Linked DNA regions of Homo sapiens: region 1 is linked to region 2. The links are contacts of gene promoters, found by promoter capture Hi-C in blood cells and fetal thymus (Javierre and others, 2016). All regions are on one chromosome and are shown on one strand. Each heading gives the region's core, a stretch centred on a gene start or on the middle of the fragment in contact. The rest is flanking DNA. Distances are from core to core; before and after follow the strand shown. Region 1 overlaps MAGI1 (membrane associated guanylate kinase, WW and PDZ domain containing 1). Region 2 holds the start of ADAMTS9-AS1 (ADAMTS9 antisense RNA 1).

Region 1 (6,205 bases), core at 1,458-3,957, 1.1 Mb after region 2:
TGAGCCACAGCGGCTCCCTATCCCAGCACTTTGGGAGGCCGAGCCAGGTGATTGTTTGAGCCCAGGAGTTTGAGACCATCCTGGGCAACACAGTGAGACACTGTCTCTCTAACAAAAAAAATTTTTTAAATAGTCAGGCATGGTTGTGCGTGCCTGTAGGCCCAGCTACTTGGGAGGCTGAGGTGGGAGGACTGCTTAAACCTGAGAGGTTGAAGCTACAGTGAACCATGATGGGGTCACTGCACGGCAAACTGGGTGACAGAGTGATACCCTATCTCAAAAAAAAAAAAAAAAAAAAAGTTGGCAAAAGAATCCCTGGAGAAAAGATAATTATTAAGCCACAAAGATAAAAAGATATTTCACCAACTATGGATTTTACACACCCTCTCAAGCTTCTTTCTCAGTAAAACCTTTAAACTATATTGATAGCTGAACCAGAGAGGAAAGCAAGCCAATAAAATTAGGAGGTCGCTAAAAATCCAAAGTCATGGCCATGCCAATCCAACCTGCGGCTGTAACTGTGTGAAGAATATAAAACTGGCACATAGAAAGAATGAGGTAATATTGGATAAGGTATCAATGTCTACACACTTTAAAAGCATCTCACCATCAAAAAGTATGGAATTGGACATAGTTCTACATATGTCCTATTTACCAAAATAATCACCCCTATAAATGTAACCCACTTCCTGGAGTTGAAAAATAATCTTTAGAATCAACCTGACAAAGCCAATGCCTCTCTTACCTGAGGTTCAAGACAGGACAATGATTTACAGATAGGACCCAACCTGGCTTTTCCCCCCTTTTAAAGAAATCAATGGCATTTAAATATGGAAATGAATTGTTAAAAGAATAAAGAGATGGTAGTAAACGCCAAAAGAAGAGGAAGGTTAGCTTTCATTGGGATAAGTATCCTCTGTCCTCTTGTAATTACCAGTGAGAAGCTCTTCTGTGCCTGAGGAAGAGAGACAGAACAGGCTCAGAGGAGCAGCCAGGTGCTTGCTTCACTGATAGAGGTGACAGACCCCTCAGAGACGAAGAAGCAGAGACGGACTGGGAGATGCCACTGCCTCACTTAACTCAGAACATCTCTTTCTTTTGAAACTTGAATTTGGGGAGAAAGTGCTCAATTATTTCTTCTAGTTAAGGCTTGGGGGCAGTCAGGTGGGCAAATCGGTCATTGGTGGTGGGGAGGAAAGAAAAAAGGAAGGATGAAAAAGTGAGAAAAAAGGAAGGGAGGGAAGAAGAGGAGAATGATGGCAAGAGAGTAAAAAGCAAAAGAAGAAAGAAGAGAGAAAGAAAACGGGGGAAGGACAGAGAAAGAACAGACAAGAGCTAGCATTATATCTCTTCTGGTGGCTTCCAGACAGACTGCCATTCTTCTCAATCAACCCTTCCCTTCTTTCTTCTTTTTCTTCTTCACCAAATTCCAGGATACCTGGGTAGGTGATGAACATGAGGAGAAAGGAGAAACGGTAAATCCACCCAAGCAGGAAGGAGTAATTTCCAACTCTATCACCCATCTCCCAATGCCTCACAAATTCTGTGGCCTTAGAGGGGCAAACTGAGGTTTTATAAAGGTTAACAGAGGTTTTATAAGGGTTCTAATTTACCTGGACCTCAGAAGAGGGACAAGCCTGCACATCTGGGCTTTGGCATAACAGAAATTATGCTTAAAGTTAGCCAGTGATTTTCAAGTAAACATGAATATGTATATACACTACATGGCCGTTCTCTTTTGGTGACAGAAATGTGCTCAGCATTCACATCATTCTCGCTTGGTTTTTTCCAAGTAATGAAAAGGGGCAACGAGAAAATATGCAGCTCAACACATTTCTTATACCAATCTCCAAAGCAAGGGCAGTCAGTGGCATGCCAGAAATGAAAACCTGCTATCTCTTTTTTTTCCAGTCCAATGCTTAGCACACTGGATTACAGAGCCTTCAAAAGTTTTAAGAACAGGTATCTTTGAAGCTGTCTTTTGTCAAGTCTCTGTCATTAAAAGTGAGTTGACTCACCTACCTCTATTAATACATCTGAGGTCTCTCTTCATCTTTAAGAGCCACTGAATAGAGCAAGATTGGAGGATAAAATATTTAAACCTCTTTTAGGAACATCATGGGTGAGTTTTGGGAAAGCAAAGATACCAAATTAGAGACAACAGGAAACGTCAGTAGTCTTACGGCTTTTCTTTGCCAACATGAGCTTCTAGCAAGACCAGATGCACTTCGGATCAGCCTTTCCATAACTTATCCATTAGAGATGTCTTTAAGCACATTGACACCCAATTTTGCCACCTTCATCTGAATATGAGAAGAGTGCTCATTTCACGTTTTCACGTTGCATTTGACAGATTAAAACTTGAAGATATGTTTTTGTCAAGCAATTTGAAAAGAATTTTAGTAGCTCTAATTGACGTACAGAACTAGCCTCTACATTAATTGAAACATAAACCATAACTGGTGTAAATCAAATCATGATTGATACTCTCTTGCCTAGAAGTATCTGGTGTGAATTAAGTTATGAGAAACACTGCATCCCAAACCAGTGACCTTACAATCAAAGCTTCTCCAAAAAGCTGACTTGGTGAGCAAATAGTGAAATGTGCCACATAAAGCCCAAGCTTTTGACTTCTGAAAGTTGTCTTTTGTAGACTACCTTGTTGTTAGAGAAAGTATGTTAAGAGGTTACTCCCCAAGATTTCACAAGCCTTTTTTTAAAGGAATGGTTTTAAAAAGCAAAATACTATAATAAGGCAAAATAGAAGGCAGACAAGCGATCAGTGAAAAGGCAAGCTTAAACTAGGTAAGTTTAGAAGATGTCTTTACTTGGTGAATCACTTATTAACCTTACATTTCTTTTTTTTTTTTTTTTTTTTTTTTTTTTGAGACAGAGTTTTGCCCTTGTTGCCCAGGCTGGAGTGCAATGGCGCGACCTTGGCTCACCACAACCTCCGCCTCCCAGGTTCAAGCAATTCTCCTGCCTCAGCCTCCTGAGTAGCTGGGATTACAGGCATGCACCACCATGCCCGGCTAATTTTGTATTTTTAGTAGAGATGGGGTTTCTCCATATTGAGGCTGGTCTCGAACTCCTGACCTCAGGTGATCCACCCACCTCGGCCTCCCAAAGTGCTGGGATTACAGGCGTGAGCCACCGTGCCCAGCCTTAACCTTACATTTCTAAAGCACTAAGAAGTTTCTAGATTTGAGTTAACACTATTATCTCTTGAAGCTCATATACCCTACGAGGTAGACAATGCAGATAGATACAGTGATTCTCATTCCACACGTGAAGAAACTGATTTTCAGAGACTAATTTGCCCAAGGTCACACAACAAATCAAGGTAGAAGCAAAACTTGAACCAATGTCTTCCAGTGTCCAGTTCAGCACTTTTCAACCATGCCCTTCTTGACTAAGGAGTCCGTTTTAAATATATGCTTTCCCAATGCCCATTGATACAGACTTTCTCCCACTTTCCTACCATTTCTCCAACTGTTCCTTTTTTCTCTCTGCTTACCGTCCTTGTTCTGTCCCCTAAATATAGACCTTCAACTGTTTGCCTTTTCTTTTTGTAACTCATCCCACTAGATGGGTCTCATCCATTTTCATAGCCTCTATGAAGACAATGAAGACAATTCCCAAACCTACTGGTTCCAGTCTACACCTTAAACTCCAATGCCACATGTCCATTCAACAACTAGTCACCAAACACCAAGTGTGTTCTAGGTACAGTGTTAGATTTTTTGTGGATGATGCTATGAACAAGAGAATAAAAGTTTCTGCCTTCATGAAGCTTGCAGTCTAGAAGGGTTGAAATAATTACTAGTAAGAAACAATTACTATGAACTGTATTATACCAAGGTCAAATAGAGAAGGACATTCAGAGGAAATGAGGTTGAAGTTTGGAAGCCAGATTTCTTTGAACAGGCTTCAGATTTTACTTTGGAACCACATAAACGTTTTATTCAAATGTAAAAAGGTTTTAGATAAACAATCTCTAAAAACAGATAATTCAAAACTCCAAAATTTGAGTTTATATCCATAACAAGAAATACCTACAGACAAAAAAAACACAAAAAAATCTTTAGGCAATTCCCTGCTATGAGCTTAGTTTTGTCCCCCCAAAATTCATCTGCTAAAATCCTAATCCTCAGTACCTCAGAATGTGAATGTATTTACATAGGCCCTTTAAAGAGGTTATTAAGGCAAAATGAGGTCATATGGGTGCGCCTAATCCAATACAATTGGTGTCCTGAGAAAAAGAGGAGGTTAGGACAAGAATGAGCATGTATCCAGCAGAAAGACCAGGTGAGGACACAGAGGGATAACAGCAGGAGTCTGGCAGCCAAGGAGCAAGGTCTCAGAAGAAACCAAACCTACTAACACCTTGATCTGGGACTTCTAGCCTCCAGAACTGAGAGAAAACAAAGTCCATCGTTCAAGCCACCTGGTCTGTGATACCTTGTTATGGCAGCCTCGGCAAATTAATACAATCCCCATATTGTAGACTCTCTGATCATATCTCCTTCAGAACCCTTACCATATTGCAATTTATCTTTTATTCTTGTGATTTTGGATTGATATCTATCTCCCAGGCTATAAACTTCATGAGGACAGAAAGAGAGGGTGTTTCTCCAAAGTGCCTAGCAAATGGTTGGCTCTTGTGATGGTTTAAAAACACAACCTAAAAATTCTGTTACACTCCTCCCATTGAAAGGTAGGGTCCATGTGCCCTTCTCTTTAATTTGGGCTCTTAGACTTGACCCACAGAATATGACAGAAGTGATTTTTGACAGTTTCCAGGTCAAAGGGTTAAGAGAATTCCAGTTCCTCTCTCTTAGATACTCAGTCTTGGCGCCCACCCACCATGCTCTGAGGAAACTGAGCCGCACAGGGAGGCCATGTGTAGGTTCTGGCTGATGGTCCTCACTGTCAGTCCCAAACAATGCCAGCAACAACTGCCAGACATGTGAGTCAGGAATCCTTCCAGATGAATCCAGCTGCAGCTACCATCTGGCTGCAACCACGAGAGACCCCAAGCAAGAAAAAAAAAAAAAAAAAGCCATGCGCGATAATAAAATTGTGTTTTGTTTTTGTTTTTGTTGTTGTTGTTGTTGTTGAGACAGAGTTTCACTCCGTCACTCAGGTTGGAGTGCAGCAGCGTGATCTCAGCTCACTACAACCTCTGCCCCCAAGTTGAAACAAGTCTCATGCCTCAGTCTCCTGAGTGGCCGGGACTACAGGCACACACCACCACACCTAGCTAATTTTTGTATTTTTAGTAGAGACGAGGTTTCACCATGTTGGCCAGGCTGGTCTCAAACTCCTGGCCTCAAGTAATCCACCCACCTCGGTCTCCCAAAGAAATTGTTTCAAGTCACTATGTTTTGGGGTGATTTGCTATGCAGCAACAAATGACCTAAATAGCATTCTATAAATAGTTGCTCAATAAAACACTTTCTAGGAATTTTCTACAAATGCTGCCCCTAAATGCTTTGGGATGTCTCTGCAAATCTCAGCAAGTGACCATCACTCTACCTTTATTCTCTCACTGGTAGGCTCTCCAATTAAATATTCATTCAGGAAGCTCATAGCTAGGAAAGGAATCTTACTGTTCAGTTTTGACCCTAAATACAGCCTAAGCTTTCAAAATGCAGTAAAGACAGAAAGTCCTAGAGAGAGAATAGCTTTCCAGGCCCCATTCCTTCTACTCCTGAGCCAGTTTCTGTTCATTGGCATTTGCAGCAGGCCCTGCTGTTTGTGGGCATAAAACATTCTGGTTGCTTGAGTGATGCAACATCACCCTGTCTTCTGCTTCCTCTCCCTGCCATACCAGCCTTAGCAAAGCTGCAGCCATCACCATGGAAACTAGCCCGGGAAGAAACTCAACATTCTTGGTCAAACCCTCCATGCTGTCACCCACAGGGAGCTCTGGAAAGAGAGCCTTGTATTTGAGTAAAAATGGTTCTTTCAGATTCTGGGAGGTAACCATTGTTTTCCCCCTATCAAGCTGCAAGAGAGATTTTTTAAAAAAAGAAAAAAAAGAAAGAAACTCTTTTATTACAAAGTCCCTTCCAATATAATACTGGCTGTCTACCCTGTGGGAACTACTAAAACAAGTCAGACAGAAGCCTAAGCCCCAACAATTTTTGAGAACTGAGCTGATTCTACCACTAACCGAGAAGGGCAGAGATACATAATAGTT
Region 2 (5,530 bases), core at 2,688-5,187:
CTCAAAAGAATTAAAAAGTCTTTTTTAACTTTTTTCTTCCAAACAGCCTCATGAGCATTATAATTCTAAAGTGGGTAAAACTGACCACTGCGAGGACAAATTACTCACCTGAAGCTGGCGGGTGATATTAGAAGCCCAACATTATAAGGTGCAGGCTGAGTCAAACTGCTGTCATCACCAGAAGCCTCCATCGGAAGGCCACCGTACTAAAAAGAAGTCTACTTTGGGATGGCCTAAAATGTGCTAGTCACCATGTCGAATCATGTCATCTCACCAAATCCTCACTGTGACCCTTGAGCAAAGTCTGCCATAGAATTCCCATTTGGCAGATGAGCTAAGTGAAGTCTAGAAATTCAGAGTCAACTTTTCAGAGCCACACACTGAACAGAATTTTGCCTACAACATGTTGTTTCTAGGATGTAAACAAAATGAGATGTGGATGTGTGGATAGAGCACTTTTCTCTTGTCCAATTATTCTACCCTATATCTGAAAGTCTGGGCTCTACTCTCATGGTATCAAGAAGGCCCCTTTCCCCTGAACAACCAATGGGCTTCACAATGAACAGGAAGTCCACTGAGGGGCTCCAACATCATCAAGACTCGCCTGGTGACATGGCTTAAAGTCTGATAGCTAACTAGATCAAGAATCTCCTTTTTAGAAGGGGTAGGTGTTACAACCCAGTAAAGGGAATACACTTTGATAGCAACTCTCCAGTAAGAGGCTTGGCAAATCATTGAGAGGAAAATAAAATAATTCACTTTAGGTGTATTTGGCATCGGATTAGTGAAGATAATGATTCAGAGTGTAGGTGCCAGCGTGCAAGCTTCCGGGCTTCAAATTCCAGCCATATTATTTACTAAATGCATGATCATTGATAAATTAACCTACCTAAGCCGCAAGTTGCCCCTATTAAATGAGGATAAAAATATAAATACTACATCAGAGAGTTATGGAAAGGGCTAAATGAAGCACTTCATGTGAAAATACTCAACATAGTGCCTAGTTTGTAGCTTAGTAAACAATAAGCTTTATTATTTTTATTATCTTCAGTATTAGGGCCATTGTACTATACAACTCTAGGGGACGCTCCTCACATTGTATAAAAATGGCATCCCTCAAAGTTGTGCAGTATACAACCTGTGTGGCTGTACAGAACATCCCTGATGACCATGGCCATGGTGAGGGTGCAGAAACTGTGCTTCTCTAGGCAGATGCTTGGATTATTTCTCAAAAAGAGGATGGTGCCATATCCTACGGACCAAGCATGCAATACACCTTGCCAACAAACTGGTGGGTTTTAATAGTCCACATAGGGGACTATTAAAAGGGGAAGCAAAAGGCAAAGTGCATACTCAAGCAAACAAGAGTTCTGAGGTGGTGGCCAGGGACCGCTAAGAAAGAAGGGGTATCCTATAATGGGGGGCTCCTGCACATCCCATTCAGTGGGCTGAGAGGCTGCCCTGTGGCACACTCTCTGACCTCAGGTCAAGACGTCACTAGGTGTGGGAGAAAAGTGGAAACGTGTGCCTGCATCAGTGGATATCAGGTAAAACGGTGGCTGAAAGAATGGATGTGAGAGGCGGTGGCAGCAAGATCGGAGGTGAGGGCTGTGATTTAGGGGAGCCTGAAGGGTTCTGTCTTATCAAGTGACCACCCAGTTTACTGTTGAACAAGGGCGCTTTTGATCATAAAAGTAGGAAGAATTAATAATTACATGAGGACTACCCCAGGCAAACAGGAGGCGTGGCCACCCTTTTCCTGATTTGATCAATTAAGGTAATTGCCCAGTTACTGTCGTCCTTCACGCTCAGTCTTGCTGCTTTGGGGACATTCTGAGCAGGCTGTCAGCAGGCCTTGCATGTATGGGAAACATGAAGACTTTTGGTGGGGCTTCTCCCCACCTCCAGCTGCCCTGGGCCTCACTCTGCCAATGAGAGGCCTCCTGTAGAATACCATAGGAATATCATAGGAGATACTCCTATGATATTCCGTCCACTTTCACCACCCCAGTATTCCTTCCTTAGACCCTCCACTTTGGGTGAAGGCAGATGAGAAAGCGTGTTCCCAGGAGGGTGACTATTAGACTCTGCTTTTCCTGTTACTCACAGAGTCTTTTCTCTTTGTGAGAATGGCAACCCTCTAGTAAGCTTCTTAAATAGAGGCCCAGGCCAGGTTATCTCCTGAAGCCGTCTATTCTTCCACAGAGTTTAACAGGAATATTTGAGTAAGGTTTAAAAAAGATCCATCTGCACGACACATGCAAAGAAGTAAATTTTAGGCATATTGTGCATGATCAGAGAAGAGGAATTTCCTCAGTGCATATGTGGCAAGGTTTTTCCATTCTTCGGGATGCAAAAGGAATTGTAAACAGAGTGTGCATTTTCGTGATTGGCTCTAGCATTTTCAAAAGCTGGCTAAAGCACAAGCAGTCAGCTTAGATTCATTTCTGAACACTCTCTTACTTTCCGCTCCTCGGAGCAGGGTTGAGTTTAGCGTGACACAAAGAGGGAGATGGAGAGAGCAGGCCATGGTAGGTCTGAAAAAAAGAGAATCAAGAGGTCACACTGAGGGGGAGAGCGAGAGAGATGAGGGAGTCTCCTCTTCCTTCTATATCTGACGTTGCCAATCCCCAAACCATAATAGATAACACTATTACCTCCAGTTTTCTCAGAACAACTCTGAAAAGTTATTTTATCCCCATTCTACAAATGGATAATCCAAGGCTCAGAGAAATCAAGAATCCTTGTTCTAATTCCCTTGGCTAATGTGTGGCAGTGCTAGGATATGAACCAAGTCTGTAGAATTTTATAGTCTCTAGGGTTCCAAATAACTGGTGTGGCTCAAGAGCTGTTAATCTGAAATGTAACTGCTTTAGGCATTCCTCCCTGCCACTGTCTGGTGGGAATAAAAAAGTAAAGAAGGAAAACAGGAAAAAGACTGAGTAGATGGAGAGGGTGAGTTTCCTAAAGAAAAGAAATTACTGCAACCAATGGAAGTAATCCATGAGGAGGCGAGGGAAGAGGAAGACAGGGCTGGGCGGCTGAATCCCAATGGGGTAAAGAATGCAGTTCTAGTATTTCTTAATGGTTTAAGAGAACAAGCTTAGCATGAAGTCTTGCTTCTTCCACTTGCTAGGTGCTAGGTATGTGACACTTGGACAAATGACACAGATTCTGTGAACCTCAGTTTTTTCACCTGCAAAATGGGATGATGATAATAATAATAATGCTCACCTTGTCTGGTGGTTAAAAAGATTAAGGGAAGCAATGAACAAAAAGTACCCAGCACAGTGCCAGGGGTACAGTCTAACTGTTCTCCAAACCATACCCTTTCTTTATGTTCTGAAAAACTCTTCATGGTGGGGAATTTCCTGCCTTATTTTTCATTATCTCTGCACCTCAAGCAGCATGCATTTTGTTTTTTATGCCAACATCAGTGGATATTGTTTTGCTTTCTAATTCTTTCCCCCCCTTTTCTACAGTTTAATCTTCTGTTCTGGAAACAGAGGTTACCTCCTATAAAACCTCCCTGGCCAAACTTTTCCCCATGGACACAATGTTTTCCTTAACCAAACATTAACTTGAAGCCAGGGAAAAAGCAAGGCCTGTCCACTTCTGCACGGACCATCAACGGAGCAGTTTCTTCAGATACCATCCTTTTTTTTTTTTTTTAAATGTTAGAAATCTTTCACTAATTAATCAAGGTTTCACATGAATGCCTATCTTCTACCTGACAGCCAAAGTCATAGAAAGAGGAAAAATACAGAGTAGGTTCTACCTAAAGTCTGCCCTGCGGCTATTTAAACAGATACAGAATGACCAAATCTGGAGACACGTATTTAAAATATTCCTTCTATCTCCCCCTCCTTCTGTGAAAGATATCTGAATGCATTCGGCCCACAGCCTGTTAAAGTTTTTTTTTTTTTTTTTGAGGCGGCCAGACTTGGAACACTCAGGAATACAGACAGACGTAGGAATTGCTTAAAAACAAGAAGTTCTCCCACCCTTGTTGGAGCGAATGCGCGAGTCTGACAGTGAACCTTTTGGGAAAGAGCCAGCATTGTAACCGTGCTCGGTGACTTCTCTGGCTTTATAGGGAACAGATGTGAGGATAGCAAGGGGCGCACACGTGAAATGCCTGGCAGGTACCCCTTTGTGGCTCTACTTACTTCTTGCCATTCCTCTGCCCTCCAAGTGTAGAGGGGACACCGTGGGCCTTGGCAGTCGCGTTCCGACTCCGGTCTGGTGTATGGGTTGCACTCGGTCTCTCTGGCTATTTTGTGTGTTCCGATCTGACAGCCCACATGCCTCTGCTGTACGCCTCGGCCACAGGACACAGAGCACTAAGAAGACAGAGAACGTAAGTGGGAGCTTCGGCTCATTTATTTTTTGGGGGGGCGGGGGGTGTCGAGGGTCACAGAGGAGGGGAATGCACTCCTAATCCAATGACTTTCATAGCTATCACATCGCTTTCTAATTTGCAATGAAAGGGATCCTAGATCATGTCTTAAACCTGGAAACTCACTGCTTATCTTATCCACGCTGGAGAGTGAGGAAGGTGCTCAAGTTTGGAGGAATCCCTCAAGTTAATGTAATTCTTAGAGGATTGAAGAGGTTAATAAAAATCATTATGAATCATTTAGCACAACCTGGAAATAGTGCTGCCATGAGAAATGAAAACTTGAAATGATTTCTATCCTGGAGGATTTGAGACTCATGAAAACTGGAGAGACAGTGTTGTACAAGAAGAATTTCTTGGCAGATTAAAAATATAACCCAAGGAGAAGTAAACCACTGAAGATTTTAGGACTTTATAAGTAGAATTATTTTCTCCAGTCTCTTCCTTTTCTTGCTCCTATTCATGGAGATAAGGCGATATTTTTTTAACCACAGAATTCACTAAAGAATTTGTGTCTATTTACAACCTCAGATGAATATATGAAGAATAAAAGCTGACAGGAAAAACCATTTCCTCGGGCTTAATGTTTTCAGCCCTTGAAAAATATTGTTAATCATGTTGAAACATTTTGCTGACCAACTTGCAAAACACCATATTAAATCTGCAATTAACTTTCCTCTAAATTAATTTTTTAATGGTTTCCTCATTGCTGGGTTTCATAATCTCACTTATGGCCAGGCCAAGAATTATTGTCTTGATTAAGGTTTTGACAGCCAGAAACTAAAGGCAACATTTGGAAAGAATGGTATATTATTACACTTAGCTATTAAAAATTATTTCCAAATTTTTGTGATAGCTCAGCCTCCATTTTTTGGTCTGGTGTTGAGAAAATAAGCTTAACATACATTAAAGCCATATTCCTAAGAGGAAGTCTTCTTAAATAATAGAATCATGACCTTTCAAACTTGAAAAAATTATTTTCCAATTAACCTGTAGCAACATTCAACTTTCTTTGAGACTATTAATGGAAATTTACTATCAAGAATCACACCCAAATGTATTCTGCTGAATGGTAATTTTCTCTCCATTTCAGATTTTAAGAAAACAGGTAACGATATTTAGAAGGTAACT

What was found. The method cuts DNA at HindIII sites, captures the fragments that hold promoters and counts their contacts. A CHiCAGO score of 5 or more calls a contact.
Region 1: a contact is called between a fragment that was not itself captured here and the fragment with the promoter of ADAMTS9-AS1 in region 2, in 1 of 17 cell types (erythroblasts). The highest score is 5.4, in erythroblasts.

What each region holds. Positions count from the first base shown.
Region 1 is chr3:65,707,412-65,713,616 of GRCh38, forward strand. The region is part of intron 1 of MAGI1 (membrane associated guanylate kinase, WW and PDZ domain containing 1); the gene reads right to left. Among named protein-coding and RNA genes, the nearest start is that of MAGI1-AS1, 180 kb to the right of the region's middle. The HindIII fragment of the contact is 172 bases long and covers 2,622-2,793 here.
Region 2 is chr3:64,557,409-64,562,938 of GRCh38, forward strand. ADAMTS9-AS1 (ADAMTS9 antisense RNA 1) reads left to right here and starts at 3,938. Exons shown (of 2, transcript NR_110151.1): 1 at 3,938-4,360. ADAMTS9 (ADAM metallopeptidase with thrombospondin type 1 motif 9) reads right to left here. Exons shown (of 40, transcript NM_182920.2): 30 at 4,170-4,343. The HindIII fragment of the contact is 2,192 bases long and covers 3,101-5,292 here.